4 separate regions of the Homo sapiens genome follow, and regions 2, 3 and 4 are each linked to region 1. The links are contacts of gene promoters, found by promoter capture Hi-C in blood cells and fetal thymus (Javierre and others, 2016). All regions are on one chromosome and are shown on one strand. The core of a region is centred on a gene start or on the middle of the fragment in contact, and the rest is flanking DNA. Distances in the headings are between cores, read along the strand shown.

Region 1 (3,753 bases), core at 874-3,373:
AATAATTGTAAGTGAACACTTGTGTCGGGACTCAGAAACTGATAGCCCAAAATATGGGGCTTTGACCGGCTGAATGGAAGCCTCAAGGTCTCTCTGACCTCACTGCCCAGCACCATCTCTCCCAAAGCACAGGATGAAGTTGAAGTTCCTTTATCTGGCTACAATCCGAACCCACCAAAAGGAACAATTGTTTTTTCTTCCCCTCCTTGTAAGACCAAAAATGTAACCACCTGAACAGACCCTTTCACAAGATAATGTGCAAGTTCATCCCTGTGCCCTGATCCATTCACTTTCCCTAGTCATCTCCTCAACAGAATGCCTCTGCTCCCCTCTCCCCAAGTCTGTTGGCCAGGATGGTAGACAAGCTTCTGAACCCCGTTGGGGGTGTGTAATCACTCTGTGATTCTCCCCATGTACATGTTAATAAATGCATATGCCTTTTCTCCCATTAATCTGCCTTTTGTGAGTTGATTTTTCAGCAAACTTCAGAGGGCAAAGGGAACATTTTTCCCATGGTCCCTATACCCATATATACCCACTACCTAGATTCAAAATCAACATTTTGCTATATTTGCAAAACACTTTTCATAGGCTAATTTTATTATCACCTTTTTAAAAAAATTCTTTTTACAAGTACTGCTCCTTGTGGAGCAGGACTACTCGATAGACAGTGTGCCCAGAGTAGCTTATTATCATTTTTTATTTCACCTAATGACTAAGGTATGATTCTATGTTTTATAGATAAGGAAACTGAAACTGAGGCTTTAATGACTTCCAAGGAGCTTGTCTGCCAGAAGTTGTAATCAACTTGTGCCAGCTGATCTGTCCACACCCTCTATCCACAGGTGTTAGATATGTAACCTAGGTCTGAAAAATATTTAGAATATTCTTGTGATGAAAAGCTTGCAATTCCACAACACAGGGGAATCAGCAAAATCATGGGAAAACCAATAGAATACATTTCTAACTCATGAATCATTCAGAGAAAAATCCAGTCTTGGGTTTTCCCTCCCCCTCATCCCATTTCTATTCCTGATTAGTCATCATTTCCTGCCCAGCCTGTCTGAGATGTTTCTTCCATCCTTTCTTTTCCAGTAACAGTAACCTGGTGCGGGTCTACAGTATCTGTTATCTCAGCTGATTTCCTTTCTGCCTTTTCATGAACCAGAGACATGTGATTTCCAATTAAAGCACAGCCCTGACCATGTCTTTGCTCAGCTTACAAAACGTCAACGGCTCGCAGCTATCCACCGAATTAAGCCTACTATAATCCCCTTCCTTCCACACTACAACCTATCCACGCATCTGTCCTCTTACTCCTTAGCTTCCATCTTACATGACTAAGAGTTGTTTCCCCAAATACACCCTTATTTACTTTTTTCATTTATAACTCACCACCACCCCCTCCAAAGTTTCACGTGGGTAAATTCTAGACCTCCACGTCATAGGCCAACTCAAATGCCAATCCTTCTAATGAACCTTCTAGAGAGCCCGGGCCTGTTGTCATCTCTATAGCCAATCTTTGGCATCTTGTGGCAATAATCTCATTCTACCTTGTAGAGCTTTCTGGTCTGACTTCCCTTGCCACCTTCTGCTCCCTTTGCCTAAGTATAACACTTTTGAGGAAAAGAACGCTGTTTTAATCATCGTCGCCTCGCCCACAGGCGGTGCTTTATTGTGCTTAATATCGTTTAACGCATCACACACTGCCGAGGGGGTCGGAGGCGGACGCCTTTTGCTGTATCCACACAGACCCGCGCAGGCACACACGTAGGCCGTCTGCCACTCTGACAGACACGTGTCCCCTGGGCCACAGCCCTGGAACTGTCTCGGGATTCCCAGCCTGTGGGCGCTTCCATGCTGGCCAGCGGAAGGGGACGCTTTTTTCTTCAGAACAGCTCCAACGGATACCTCTTATTTTAGACCGCCTGCGGATTCTATCTATAAATCAGCCTAAGCCCCGCTTCCTTTTAAAACAGGATTACGCCGGGTCGAGGGAGCCTGGCGTGGCCGCGCAGTGGCCGGGTCCCGCGGATTCCCCTCCAGCTCCCGCTTGGTAGCGCCCGCTTTGTCAGCGCGCAGCGCTCGCCGGGCGCCCTGCAGGTCTCGCCAGGTCTCACAGCAGACGGTGCCGACGCAGCGGTGTTGCACCTCCCTCTCCGGCTCTGCTGCCCGGGATTTCCCCAGAACCTGCGCCGCGCGAGAAGGAGCCTGGGAGCATCCGCCCACACTGCCCGGACAGTCGGCTCGACTCGGTGCCCTCGGCCCCAGCCGGGCTCCGCTCCTCGGGCGCGCGAGGGGCCGTGGTGGCGGCGGCGCCCGGCATGTTTCATAGTCCGCGGCGGCTCTGCTCGGCCCTGCTGCAGAGGGACGCGCCCGGCCTGCGCCGCCTGCCCGCCCCAGGGCTGCGCCGCCCGTTGTCCCCGCCGGCTGCTGTTCCCAGGCCCGCATCCCCCCGGCTGCTGGCGGCGGCCTCGGCGGCCTCGGGCGCCGCGAGGTCGTGTTCCCGAACAGGTGAGTGCACCCCAGTTCCGGGCGGAGAACGCCACGGCCGCCAACGCGCGGCCGCCACCTGGAGACCGCGCGGAATGAATGAGAAGCCCGGGGCTGCCGGTCGTGGAGTCTGGCCTGAAAGTGGGTCCTTTACCGGAGCAACCTTCTGCGTTCCCTTTTTCCTCTTTCCCTGTTCCCCGACTTGCCTGGGGCTTGCATCAAAGCTAGTAAGAACTGGGAGACTGTATTCAGGTTCCCGCTTGACCCTTAGAGGCCATGCTTTCAGAATTTCTTGTTCTTGACCGTTAAATTTCCCCCTTCCGAGGCCGCGAGTTACTATGTTGGTTACATTTTTTATTGCACGACTTAACGGAAATTTTTATGGAAAAAAAAATCTAAATGATGCTTATTTGCTTATATAGCTTTCATGGTCTAGATATTAAGTTTTTTTTTTAAGTCGTGATAATAACACATTGATTCGTTTTACGTTGTTTTTTTTTTTTTTTTTTTTTTTTTTTTTTGAGATGGAGTCTCACTGTGTCACCCAGGCTGGAGTCCAGTGGCACGATATCGGCTTACCGCAACCTCCCGCTCCCGGGTTCAAGCGATTCTCCTGCCTCAGCCTCCCGAGTAGCTGGGATTACAGGCGCCAGTCACCACGCCTAGCTAACTTTTGTATATTTAGTAGAGACGGGGGTTTCACCATTTTGGCCAGGCTGGTCTTGAACTCCTGACCTCGTGATCCACCCGCCTCAGCCTCCCAGAGTGCTGGGATCACAGGCGTGAGCCACCGCGCTCGGCCATTTTACGTTTCTTTGGATTTTTTTTTTTTGGAGGCTTCCACTCTTTATAGTTAACATCATTTTTTGTCCTGTGTATCTAAGATCTTGTAAAAGTGAGGCCTTAGTTTCACCAAGAGCTGTTTTCATACATCATAATAACTACCCTGAGTTTTCCTTTTTTGCTACCTCTGTTTCTGCCTGGGCACACATTACCATGGCCACAAATTACATACAAATTAATTATACTTTAAAAATTGATAAATTTTTTCTTTCAAAACTAGGCAATACATAACTTTTTTTTTTTTTTTTTTTGAGACGGAGTTTTGCTCTTATTTCCCAGGCTGGAGTGCAATGGCGCGATCTCGGCTCACCGCAACCTCTGCCTCCCGGGTTCAAGCGATTCTCCTGCCTCAACCTCCCGAGAAGCTGGGATTACAGGCATGCGCCACCGCGCCAGGCTGATTTTTGTATTTTTAGT
Region 2 (3,753 bases), core at 399-2,898, 1.5 Mb after region 1:
TACATGTAGATTATTTGGTGTGGCAAGGATAGAATACGGGTCATCTAGACCATTGTTTGAAATCCCATAATAGAACACAACCAGTATTAAACAATAATAGGAATAGAACAGAAAATATTTAGAAACCATTGGTCATAATATGGTTAAATATATTTTAGGAATTTTTTATACTATTATAATTATTTTAAATATTTCTGTGTACATCTGTGTGTATTTTGGACATCCACATGAATGTTTGTTATTGATCATGATGTAAAATGTGGCTCAAGGTCAAAAATGTTGATTTGCTACTGTCTAGTATTATGAATCGTGCCAGAAATAAAATAGACCTTCTTGAGAGTTGCAAGCATATCTGTTATGTTCTGAAGAGTAACCTTTAAAATAGGTACTTTAATGATTTAGTTGTACTCTTTAAGAATGGTCTATTTAAGAATAACTCATATATATAAGTGAATATTTGGGGGAAGAGTCCAGAGTTACACTCCTTTGTTCAGAATTGTTAGAGAGTGATTAATATATTTTTTAAAATGAGGATGTGGAGGTCCTGAAAGCTAACAGGTTGCTGGTTCTCAAAATTTATTTATACCTTATTTATTTGTATAGTTCCTTTATTTGAAACATAGGATGCAGTTTCCCAAAGTAACAATATTACAAATTTTAGCAGATGCACTTGGGGAGGTGTTATATTTCAGGTCCATTACAAGAGTAGTCCTTAAACTTAAGGAAGAATCAAAATCTTCTGGAGGCCTATTAAAACACAGATTATTGGGCCCCATCCCCGGAATTTCTGGTCTGGTTCTGATTGCATTTCTAACATGTTCCCAGGTGATACTGCTGCAGCCGTTCCTGCTGGTGAGGGCAGTGTCTTGAGGCACTAATAGCATATTAGTATGCTGTCTGGGGACTGTTGTGGATCATAACTGCTTTAACTTTGTTTCGATAGGAAACTGTGTATGTTTTTCAAACTGACCTTAAACAAGTTGGTTTGGAACTATTTGGGTGCTGAACCCTCTAGAATGAATTGTTCTGTGAAATCTGTTTTCTTTAAGCCTCGACATTGTAAAGAGAGTAAAACCATAGCTGAGCTCTTTATGTTATACCCACAATCCCAGCTTCCAACCAATTTTTTCAGTAGTGTGTTCCTCCAAATAACCTTGACATCTCTCAGCCTGGAAGTTGTCCAACACTGCCATTGCTGTCCACTAAAACTCTTATCTGGTCCCCTTCATTACTCTCTGACTTTATCTACTACTGTTCTTGCCTTGCTCACTGGTCATCACCACTATGCTGCCTGTTATTTTCCAAACACATCAGCATGCTTCTGGTTTATGACCTTTGCACCAGGTCTTCTGTTTAAGTAGAATTATCTTCTCCCGCTTAAAAGCTTAGCTCACTTCCTCATTTTCAGGTTTTTCCTCAGTTATGACATTCTCTATGAGATTTTCCATGACCATTCTCTACCTAAGGGTATACCTTTGTCTCTCTTTATGATCCCCTTTCCTTAATTGTTTCACCATAGCACAGACCATCACTAGCGTACTAAATATTTTACTTACTTATTTTTCCATTCCTGAAAAGAAAAAGGCATTGTTTATTTTTTGTTGTTGTTTTGTTCACTGATGTTTTTCTAGTACCTGAAACAGTGCCTGGAATGTGATAAGGCTCTGAATATTTATTGAGTGAATGAATGAATAAGTGAGAAAAATAAGAGGATAAAGAATAATAAGTAAATGAAAATTAACTTTTTTCAGAATAGAGTGTAGTGTTTCTTTTATTTACTAATTTACTGTAGAGGTTCTGGAACTGGGGACTCAGTATCACATCTATCAGTGTAATTGTTATAACTGCATTTGTAACAACAGTTTTGGTCACAGAATTTATTAATGGGATTGTATGTGTGGTAAAATCATGCCAAGCTTAAGTGGAACAATACATAAGATGCTACATTTAAGAACTCCAGTGCCTTGGTCAAATCCGTCCAAGGATTTGAATGACTACCACATGTTCAGTATTCAACCAGGGTCTTTGGGATATTCAAAAGATATACAAAAGAAGACTGGAATTGAATGTAATTGTAAGTAGAAGTTTAGAGAAGGAAGAGGTAAATGTAGACTAGAGTGTTTGGGGATTTTAAAGTAGTGGTTACAAGTTAAAGAAAAATAAAATGTTCATCATTTTTTACCTCTGTTTCTTGCTATTAAAAAGTTCACTTGAAAAGTAAACATTAAAATTGTATTCTTATGAACTTCATTATTCAAAAATAGAAATTGCTATAGTACTTTGGAGGGCATCCTGCAAAGAGAGTGGTCAACAAATGGGTAAATACTGAAATTAAATCACTTAACGATTTATTCTTTTAAGGTTTTAAATCTAAGACAAACTTTCCAATAAACAGAGGTAGCCTTATCAATTTAAAAATATAATTTATGTGTGTATTGCACCTAATTTGTATATTCCATTTACTTTGTAGGGTAAATCTATTTCTCATTTTGTGATATTTTGGTTTACCTAATTACATTTTTATTCGATAAAAAAGTCTGGGTTCAAATCCTGATATTATCAATTACCAGTTGTTTGACTGTGTACAAGTTACTTATTTTCTCATTCTAAAAGCTATTCATACCCACATAGTTGTTTTGAAATTAGAGATATTACTATGAAAACAGTCTAAGAGAATGCCCAATACTTAGTAAGTATTCAACAAATAGTGGTTACTAATAATATTAATGATAATATAATTAAGCCAATATATACCATAATCATTTTAGAAATTTGATATTCATGAAAACCTCTTTGGTACTTGAGAGTACTTAGCATTACCAATGATTGCTGTGAATAAAAGTGATTTTAATCTATTCAGAGTGATTCCCTAAAGCAGTGATCTTGAAGTATGATCATGTTGGACTGTGCACTGTTCCACAGTGTGCATTCTTTCTTTGTTAAAAATTGAATCTTATTTGCTTATATTTTAGATTAAGGACTATTTATCAATTAGATATTAAGGGTTAACAAACTGGGATTTATAAATAAAAATTAATGACTTATTCGAATTTGAGGAGTCTAATTCAATATTCTGCTAAGAAGTCTGGCTTCCATGCAATATATGACAATGGAGCAAAGCTCCACTGTACTTACGCATATACAGGCATTTGAATTTCTGAAAGTTAGGGAGGAATACTTTGGCAATCTATTGGTGTTTTTGGTGGCTGTCTTTTTATTGCAGCTGCCGTCTTAGGGTTTAAATAATAATGTAGCTGTTAAATAGTTGAATAATAAATACATTTTACGGCATTAGTTTAGTTTTCTTTTAATGCTATAGTGATGCACATTTGCATTTTTGGGCCTCTACTTTTCCACTACAGCCTATAGTCATTCAAAGTATAATAAGGGGATTCTATGAACAACTTTATGCCAGTAAATTGTTTGATTTTACACAAAATGGACGAAGTCCTTGAAAAACAACTTACCAAACTAACACAAAAAGAGATTAAAAATCTAAATAGTAGTATACTTACAAAAGAAATAGAAACTGTAATTTAAAATTTTTTCACAAATCTCTAATCTTGGCTTCACTAGTGAAGTGTTAAACATTTAAGGGAGAAGAAATAATACCACTATTACATTAACTCCTAGGAAATAGAATAGAAAGAAACACACTTTATGGGGCCAGTATCATCTTGATACTAAAGCCAGATATAGACAATATAATATATGAAAATTACAGTTCAATGTCCTTCATGAATATAGGTGCAA
Region 3 (3,753 bases), core at 449-2,948, 1.4 Mb after region 1:
CTTTTCTGAAAGATATATAGACTTTCTGAAATTTAGTGTCCATATCTGTAAATTGCAGTTTCCTTCTGTTGATTTGATGAAATAACATATGCAAAGCATTTAGCACATTAATGCACGAAGACATTATTTTAGCAGTCTTAGTAGTTCTCCAGTATGACAGATGGTGAAATCAATTTTAGATGCAGAAAAGTTGAGTGGCTGAAGATGGACGGGTATTAGGAAAAAGTCTCAAAATCTGCAGGCTCAGATGTGACAATAGTTGTGGTGGAATGGTGGAAAAAACACTGGGCATTTGTTGTAGTCTTGGCCCTGTTGCTAACTACTTCTGTGGTCTTCAGTAAGCCATTGTCATCTTTGGCCTTGATTTTGTAAAATGAAGCAGCTGGACCAGATGGTTTTCTTTAAATTCTTTCTGTTGCCCAAATTAGAGCTAAAAGGTAGAGAAGACGATAGCAGACATTTATTGAATACCTACTATGTACTAGGTACTGTTGCCAACACATTGTATCTATCCACTCATTCTCACAACAAACCCATGAGATACGTACGGTTATTATCCACATTTTACAAATGAGGAAACTTAAGGCCGAGGTGTTAACCTTGCCCAGGGTTCCAGAGCTTATAAATTGCAGAGCTAGGATTTGAATCCAGGTAATCTGAATCCATATTGTTAATCATTGTGCCAGGCTGCCTCTTGAGGAGAGTGATATTGTGGATATTGTACACTATTAGAGATAACTGTAAAATAAGATAGGGGCATATTTGGTAAGATGATCGTCTTTGGTCACAGGTGTGTGTGCATGGCAAAAATTATTTAATTAAATGAATCTTGTCCCAATGTTTGCCACATTTCCTGGTTTGTATTCTCTCTATGCGTTCTGCCTCCTGGACTTAAATAATCAAAAAAGTAATTCTAGATTCCCTTCCACTAACCAAGGCTAGATACCCGAATTTACTGTGTTTTTTGAGAAACCTTTGAAAGGTCTGACCTAGCCATACATCAGAGCTGAAGAATCTCAGCGAACCATGTCCATTTCTGGGGTAAGGTGGTTTAGGATAGGCAGAGCAGCCTCAGCGCCCCAAATTCATTTCAGTGTTCCCACGCTTGAGCAGACTTGGTCTTAATTTTCTCGTTTTTCATCAGATTTGCGTTTATATATAGGAGCAGAAGGAGTTGAAAGTGAACTCTTAAGAGCATATTTGACATGGAATTAGATTGATGTTATAGCAACTATAGGTAAAAAAGGATTTTATAGTTGAAAAATTTGAAAAGCTCAGTATTAAGTATCTGTTATGATGTAGTACTGTGTTAATGTAGACTTTGGGCAGTTTGGGGATCAATACTATTTTAAAAGAAAAAATCCATGGCTAAAATACTTTGACATAAAGAACTCAGCAAGTCTTTTGATCCCATATGTCAAACAAATCAGTTTATTGCCCTAAATCTACTGAAAGACTTTGAATATATATTAATACAATAGTAGCATTTTGAGATGGGTCTATTTGATCACATCACAATAAAATACAATTGCTTCTTGTTCTTTTGTCGTGGAAAGGCAGCAGGTAATGCTGTGGTCCACTGTACTAAAGAGTAATGCCCTTATGCGTAGGGCTGCCAGATACAGTGGGCGGTTTTTTCACTGTGCAACACTTGGGATGCAATCTTACGTAGACTGTGGTGTGAATTGTGCTCTCTCGCGTTGTATACCCTTATAGCACTGTTCTTGTGGCACTACTTTTGTGCTCCTGCCTCTACCCTAATCTTGAGTGTAAGAGTAATTTTTCCTTTAATAAGCCCTCTCCACCCTGTTTTTCTGCTTTTTATTTTCTTTCACTTTTTCAGATGAAGTCACACTGTTGCTAAACCATGCATAGGTTTTCTATTGTTTGAATTATATGTGGTCAGAATTTCAGAAACTGGCTTCTTTTTCTTTACCTCTTATATTGGTGAGTTTGGAATACTTGTGTTTTTGCAGACTTTTTGGTTTAATTTAAATATTAGTCTGAAACATAAGCAAAAGAAGACTACCCTATCACTGTATTATATCTGACTTCAAAATCAGCTGTGTCGATTTTCTGATTATCTGTTGCTTTGGCTTGTATATCTTATAACTCTTCTTAGCTATCATGAAAATTCGTTCTAGCTGTAGCCTTAAAATCATTGGATATGAGAAATTTGAAGCACTTTTAATTTATTATTTAGCAAAGACAGATGCCAAATTGCAGCTTACTCTTGCTGAGCACTCCCACGATCACTTTTGCTTTTGGCTGTTGCCTCTCTCATCTTACTCAGACCTCTTTTAGCTGGATCAGTGGTTGAAATGGTATGAAAAGAGAATGACTGTAGTACCTGGTTACAGGTGTGCTTCTCTGTCAGGGAAATGTCAAATCAAGTTTTCACTGACACTCTTCCTCTTCAATTATAGTTAAAGAGACATGTTGATTCAATGGAGAGGAATAGTTTTTGGAGTGTGGTCTTTAAATACTACAGTAGGCTGAATAACTTTTAAAAAAAGAATTGTTGGAAAAATTTTAGTAATCTGAAATGCAGAGAACCTGAGAATTAAATAATGTGAAAAAGAGGTCGGGCAGAGCAACTTTAAATGCGGTTTAGATAAGGGGACAGATGCTAGAAGACTTGGAGTAGGTTTATTCAGCATTATTAAATTAATTGTATACCATTTGTAGTTAATTATTTAATAATGTTATACAAGGGATATTTCATATTTTTTTCTAGACTAGTGAGTGCTATCTAACTTGAACTATAAACTTGAAGTTTATGTATATGTACACTGGGCATTTTAATTTGAAGTTCATGTTAGTATCTAAAGTGTAACAGGATTTATGTAGATGTACACTGGGCATTTTCAAATTTCATGTTAGTATCTGAAGTACAACAAGATTTGTATTAACAGCTGTGAGAGAATGTGTAATACACTGATATCTCTATTGTGATTCTAGTTCTAGTATGTAGATATCCTTATTTAATAGGTCTGCTTTCTACTGTTTAAGATACGGAGGCATAACAATGCCTTGGGCATAGAAGATATTCAGTAAATACTTGTTGAAAGAATAACACTGACAGGTCTAGGTTGCTTCAATGTAGTAGATTAGATTGGTTAACAAATCTGTTTTCAGTAATAATCTGGTGACATTATTTAATATATTTTGAACATATTGAATGAAATGATTGTTAGCAATGGAGCAGAACATGTTTTATAGAAATTTTTTGTTCTAATATTTAGAAGTCTTCATTGTAATAATAAAATGTTAGTATTTATTTACTTATTTACATCCTGATTAGTCTGTTTTGATTTAACCCTGACTAGGAGCTGATGAATGGACATTTTTTCATTTATTCCATATTAATATTTTAGATGGTCTAGTATTTATCTTTTGAATTTTATTTGTAAAAAATTAAACAGTATATGTAAAGCAATACTTTAATGAAGAAGAATATTTGAAACAATTTTATCTTCATCCATACCGTCATCCTTAATATCAGAGCATTTTTTCATTTTCATGTTTTTTATGCATATTTATATATATTTCACATAATTTACATCAGTGAATATACAATTTTATACACATTTTTTCATGTAGTATAGTCATAATTATTTTCAGTAGCCACTCCATTAGAAATTATAACTGTACTCAGGAGGCTGAGGAAAGAGGATTGCTTGGGTCCAGGAGTTTAATACAGACTGGGCAACTTGGCAAGACCCTCATTTCTAAATAAATAAATAAAAATAT
Region 4 (3,753 bases), core at 1,254-3,753, 1.1 Mb after region 1:
GAGGAACATATGAATTTTCTTAGGCGGTCCTGAGTTGAAATATCTAAAAATTATATTTGCATTCTATTGCCATATTATAGACTGGTGATACATTCTATACTTGGTAACACAATTTCATTTTTAAAAAAATTTCTTCAAGGCACAACCAGATGTGACTTTTTATAACTAAATCAGAAAAAAAGCTTGCCAGACCATGTGTCCAGATTTTTCAGTTCTGCAAAGATATCCTTTCTGGTTGCTCAGTGGATCCTAACCACAAAAGCTAAGACTCATGTTTGTTTGTTTTTTTTTTTTTTTTTTGAGACAGAGTCTCGCTCTGTCGCCCAGGCTGGAGTGCAGTGGCACTATCTCGGCTCACTGCAATCTCTGCCTTCCGGGTTCATGCCATTCTCCTGCCTCAGCCTCCCAAGTAGCTGGGACTACAGGCACCCGCCACCACGCCCTGCTAATTTTTTTTAATTTTTTTTTTATTTTTAGTAGAGATGGGGTTTCACCGTGTTAGCCAGGATGGTCTCGATCTCCTGATCTCGTGATCCGCCCGTCTCGGCCGCCCAAAGTGCTGGGATTACAGGCGTGAGCCACCGTGCCCAGCCAAGACTCATGTCTTTAAATAGTTTGTTTACTCTGCCTTCCTGGATCAAATCTATACCATCATGTGCTGCATTAGGGCTTTTCTCCCAGAAGGTTGAAACCTCCCATGATTGTAGAGGCAGCACCTTGGCTGTATTACCCTAGCCTGAGATTTCCTTTGGAGTGCATTCGGTCTGGCCGTCAGGTTGTCCTGCTCACTGTGCAGCATGATCCCCCTGACATTCCATCCTTTGGAGCCCCAGTAACCACAGCAGGAGGGCCAGCAGCTGAGGCTGAGCCAGAAGAGACCTGTTCTAGCTGGATCTGCACAGCCTGGTCTCTGGGTCTAAAATAAAACTCTTAACTTCTCTGCCAATGAGCTCTGCCAGGCCTGATGACGTAACAGGTCCCTTCAGTTCTATTTGCAGGCAAGGTCCATTTACATCAGGATTTCATCCAGGTAAGGGGGAATTTGGGAGGGGGAGGGAGTGAGGGACTCTCAGAGAATGGACCTGTCTTCCCATCATGCATGGAAAAGGTCTGAAAGAGCTGGTGAGGTGCCAAAGTAATTGTACACGTCATCTTGAGCTGTGCAAAGAGGAGCAGGCCTAGCTATAGCTAATTGCTATCCTCCGGCTATATGCTCCCCACTGAATACCAGAGAGGGGAATCTGTTCGGTGCATAACAAAGAAAAATCACAAGTAAAATAAAGCTAAGCAGCAGCCGGCCAACGCTGTGATGCTGCGACCGCCAACCATGGCCAGCCACACACAGGGAAACTCGGATTTGTCCTCACTCATCTTCTCTCAGGCCTTCTAATTAAGAAAACCTTAAACTTGGAACCAATTTACTCCTTTCTCGCTCATTTAAGTCATCACCCTGACCCATCTCTGATGAAGACAGAGCACTTCAAACAATGGAGAGTAGTTCCTAAGATAGCCGGTGGCCAACGTGAACTTCCTAATTAAGGACCCACACAAAAGTAACTTTCTCTTCTTCTGGGCTCTTTGTGTTTGTAAAAATGCGGCTTCAAGCTGAACAAACTATTTGATCATCTTCCCGCTTCCTTCCTCCTTTCCTGTCTGTCTGTCTGTAATGTTTCTCAGCTGATCAATAGCTGTCTCTCTGTGTCATGAAGTGTGCAATAAGCTGTTCTTTTTCTTTTGTCTCAAAGCCAGAAGACGCTGTATGGAAAGACCAGTTCCTCTTCTCCCACCCTTCTAGCTGTGCGTGGCAGCCCAGTGGAGGTCTGGACGCTTGCCACTGAGTGCCAAGAGCAAAACCCAGGCCAATCAGCAGGACGGATCCAAGCCCCTGACTGCAGCAGAGGTGCCTCTCCGCAGCCAGGCTGCAGCCACCCACAGCCTTGGGGCTGCCCTGACCCTGCCTCAGGCAGGAGCCCCGCCTCCTTCTCAAAGGACGTCACAGAGTACCTGCCCTTGGGGTGCCACACATCTTTCTTTGCTCTCTTTTTTCAGATTCAATTTGCCTGAATAGGAAGAACCTCTCCTTCCTGCCTAATCTATTCCCAGAAATCCCAGCTGCTCTCCCCAACTTTCACAGAGCAAATCAGTAGGCCCACCACTGTCCATGTTGGAGATCACACTGAGCCTCGTCTGGACCCCCCACTGCTTCTGGAGCATCTCCACAGACGGTCAAATCTGCATATCCAAACCTGAATCCTTCATCTTTCTCTCCCACTTGACCCCCAATTGGCAACAACACCCTGCGCTCCAGGCTGAGGGTCAGGCTTAACTGTCCCCTCTCCTCATCTCCTACATCCTCTGCAAGCTTTCTAAATTTTATTTCACACACATTTCTCAAATCCAGCCCCCAGAATCTAGAGATAAGACCACAGCCCTAGTTCAAGCCCAAATCCATCCTCCTCACTGCCCTTCTTGCCCCCTCTTCTTTCCAGGGGCCGCCTAACACAGAATTCTAACTCCATTGCCCTGTGTCCCTCTGCCCTACCCTCCGAGCCCCCCAATAACATCTGAGAACCCATGTTCCTCTCCACTGTCACCCACTCAATCCTTGCAGCAGGGACCTGCACTGGTTCCTACCCCGCCACAGGAAGCTTCCTGCTTCCTGTTCAGGCTCCACCCTCTCCAGAGAAAGGCCCCTCCTCCCCTTCACCCAGCTAATAACTCTGACTTTGTTCACGGACTCCCCACCTCCAGACTGGGCTAAGTGCTTCATACACATTTCTGTCATTGGATCAAGCTCCTAAAGGGCAGGGACTGGGTAATATTTCCCTGTGTAGTCTCAGCACCCAGTTACACACTGTGGGCTCCTGTTACACACAGCAGGTTCTCAGCAATTGGGATATTGCATTTGTACTTTCAGATTACTAGCTGATGCTCTCTATTACCTACCACAGGGCAATCAATACCTAAGTATGCCTTAGACCCATTCTGGTGCTACCTATTTAAAGAAGGCAGACTCCTAGACACCAACGGTTGTGTCTATGGAACATATTTTGTCTAGCAACTTACGCACTTTGGGGTACTTAATAACTTGATGGAGTTGAAGATGATGACGGTGACAATGACGTCAACCAGGACAGGAAACTGGAGATGATTAGACATCCTTTATTCTCCAAGGCTGTGTAGCTGCTTAAAACAGTTCTCGATGAGTCACAGAATGACAGCTCATTTATCTTGAAACCTTAACTAACCAGAATACAGCATGGACCCTCAGTCAGACACACTTCTGAGAAGCTGAAATACGTATCCGAAAGTTCACATGCTTGTCCACACACAAGTTAAAGAGGTAACTTGTGGAAGGGGTCATCTAGTCTGCATTCAGGGCCTATTTATTCTTGCTTAACATTCACCTTGATAATCTATGCGATCTCATTCCTCAGTCACAGCAAGTTATTTGATGTAAAATATGAGAAGAGGCGAGGTGGCAAGAGGCTGCTGGGGACTGACACGTGGGAGCAGTGCAGAAGAGAACCCTGACAAACCTTAAAAGAACACAAAGTACATAGTAGTCTTGGGATGGCTCATGTTGAGGGACAATGAGTTCCACACATATTAACAAACCCTAATGACACCATCACACAAAGGTACAATATTTACCCTCACGATGATGAGCAAGATACCGAGAGAGTTACATTCTGTGCAATATTTTCTACCTGCAGAGAAAAGGAAGTTGAGAGAATATTTTAAGATGATTTC

The links. The method cuts DNA at HindIII sites, captures the fragments that hold promoters and counts their contacts. A CHiCAGO score of 5 or more calls a contact.
Region 2: a contact is called between a fragment that was not itself captured here and the fragment with the promoter of NOCT in region 1, in 2 of 17 cell types (fetal thymus and activated CD4 T cells). The highest score is 5.4, in fetal thymus.
Region 3: a fragment that was not itself captured here is called in contact with the fragment with the promoter of NOCT in region 1 in 1 of 17 cell types (fetal thymus); the score reaches 11.6 in fetal thymus.
Region 4: a fragment that was not itself captured here is called in contact with the fragment with the promoter of NOCT in region 1 in 1 of 17 cell types (activated CD4 T cells); the score reaches 5.0 in activated CD4 T cells.

The regions. Positions count from the first base shown.
Region 1 is chr4:139,013,658-139,017,410 of GRCh38, forward strand. It overlaps NOCT (nocturnin), which reads left to right and starts at 2,124. Exons shown (of 3, transcript NM_012118.4): 1 at 2,124-2,514. The coding sequence starts at 2,325. RefSeq lists enhancers at 484-1,683, 820-1,741, 1,774-2,123 and a silencer at 2,264-2,563. The HindIII fragment of the contact is 5,482 bases long and covers 901-3,753 here.
Region 2 is chr4:140,528,343-140,532,095 of GRCh38, forward strand. The region is part of intron 3 of ELMOD2 (ELMO domain containing 2); the gene reads left to right. Among named protein-coding and RNA genes, the nearest start is that of ELMOD2, 6.1 kb to the left of the region's middle. The HindIII fragment of the contact is 532 bases long and covers 1,383-1,914 here.
Region 3 is chr4:140,374,832-140,378,584 of GRCh38, forward strand. All of the region lies in intron 1 of SCOC (short coiled-coil protein), which reads left to right. Among named protein-coding and RNA genes, the nearest start is that of SCOC, 3.1 kb to the left of the region's middle. The HindIII fragment of the contact is 6,823 bases long and covers 1-3,753 here.
Region 4 is chr4:140,093,135-140,096,887 of GRCh38, forward strand. All of the region lies in intron 1 of MAML3 (mastermind like transcriptional coactivator 3), which reads right to left. Among named protein-coding and RNA genes, the nearest start is that of MAML3-AS1, 33 kb to the right of the region's middle. RefSeq lists an enhancer at 1,901-1,950. The HindIII fragment of the contact is 286 bases long and covers 2,361-2,646 here.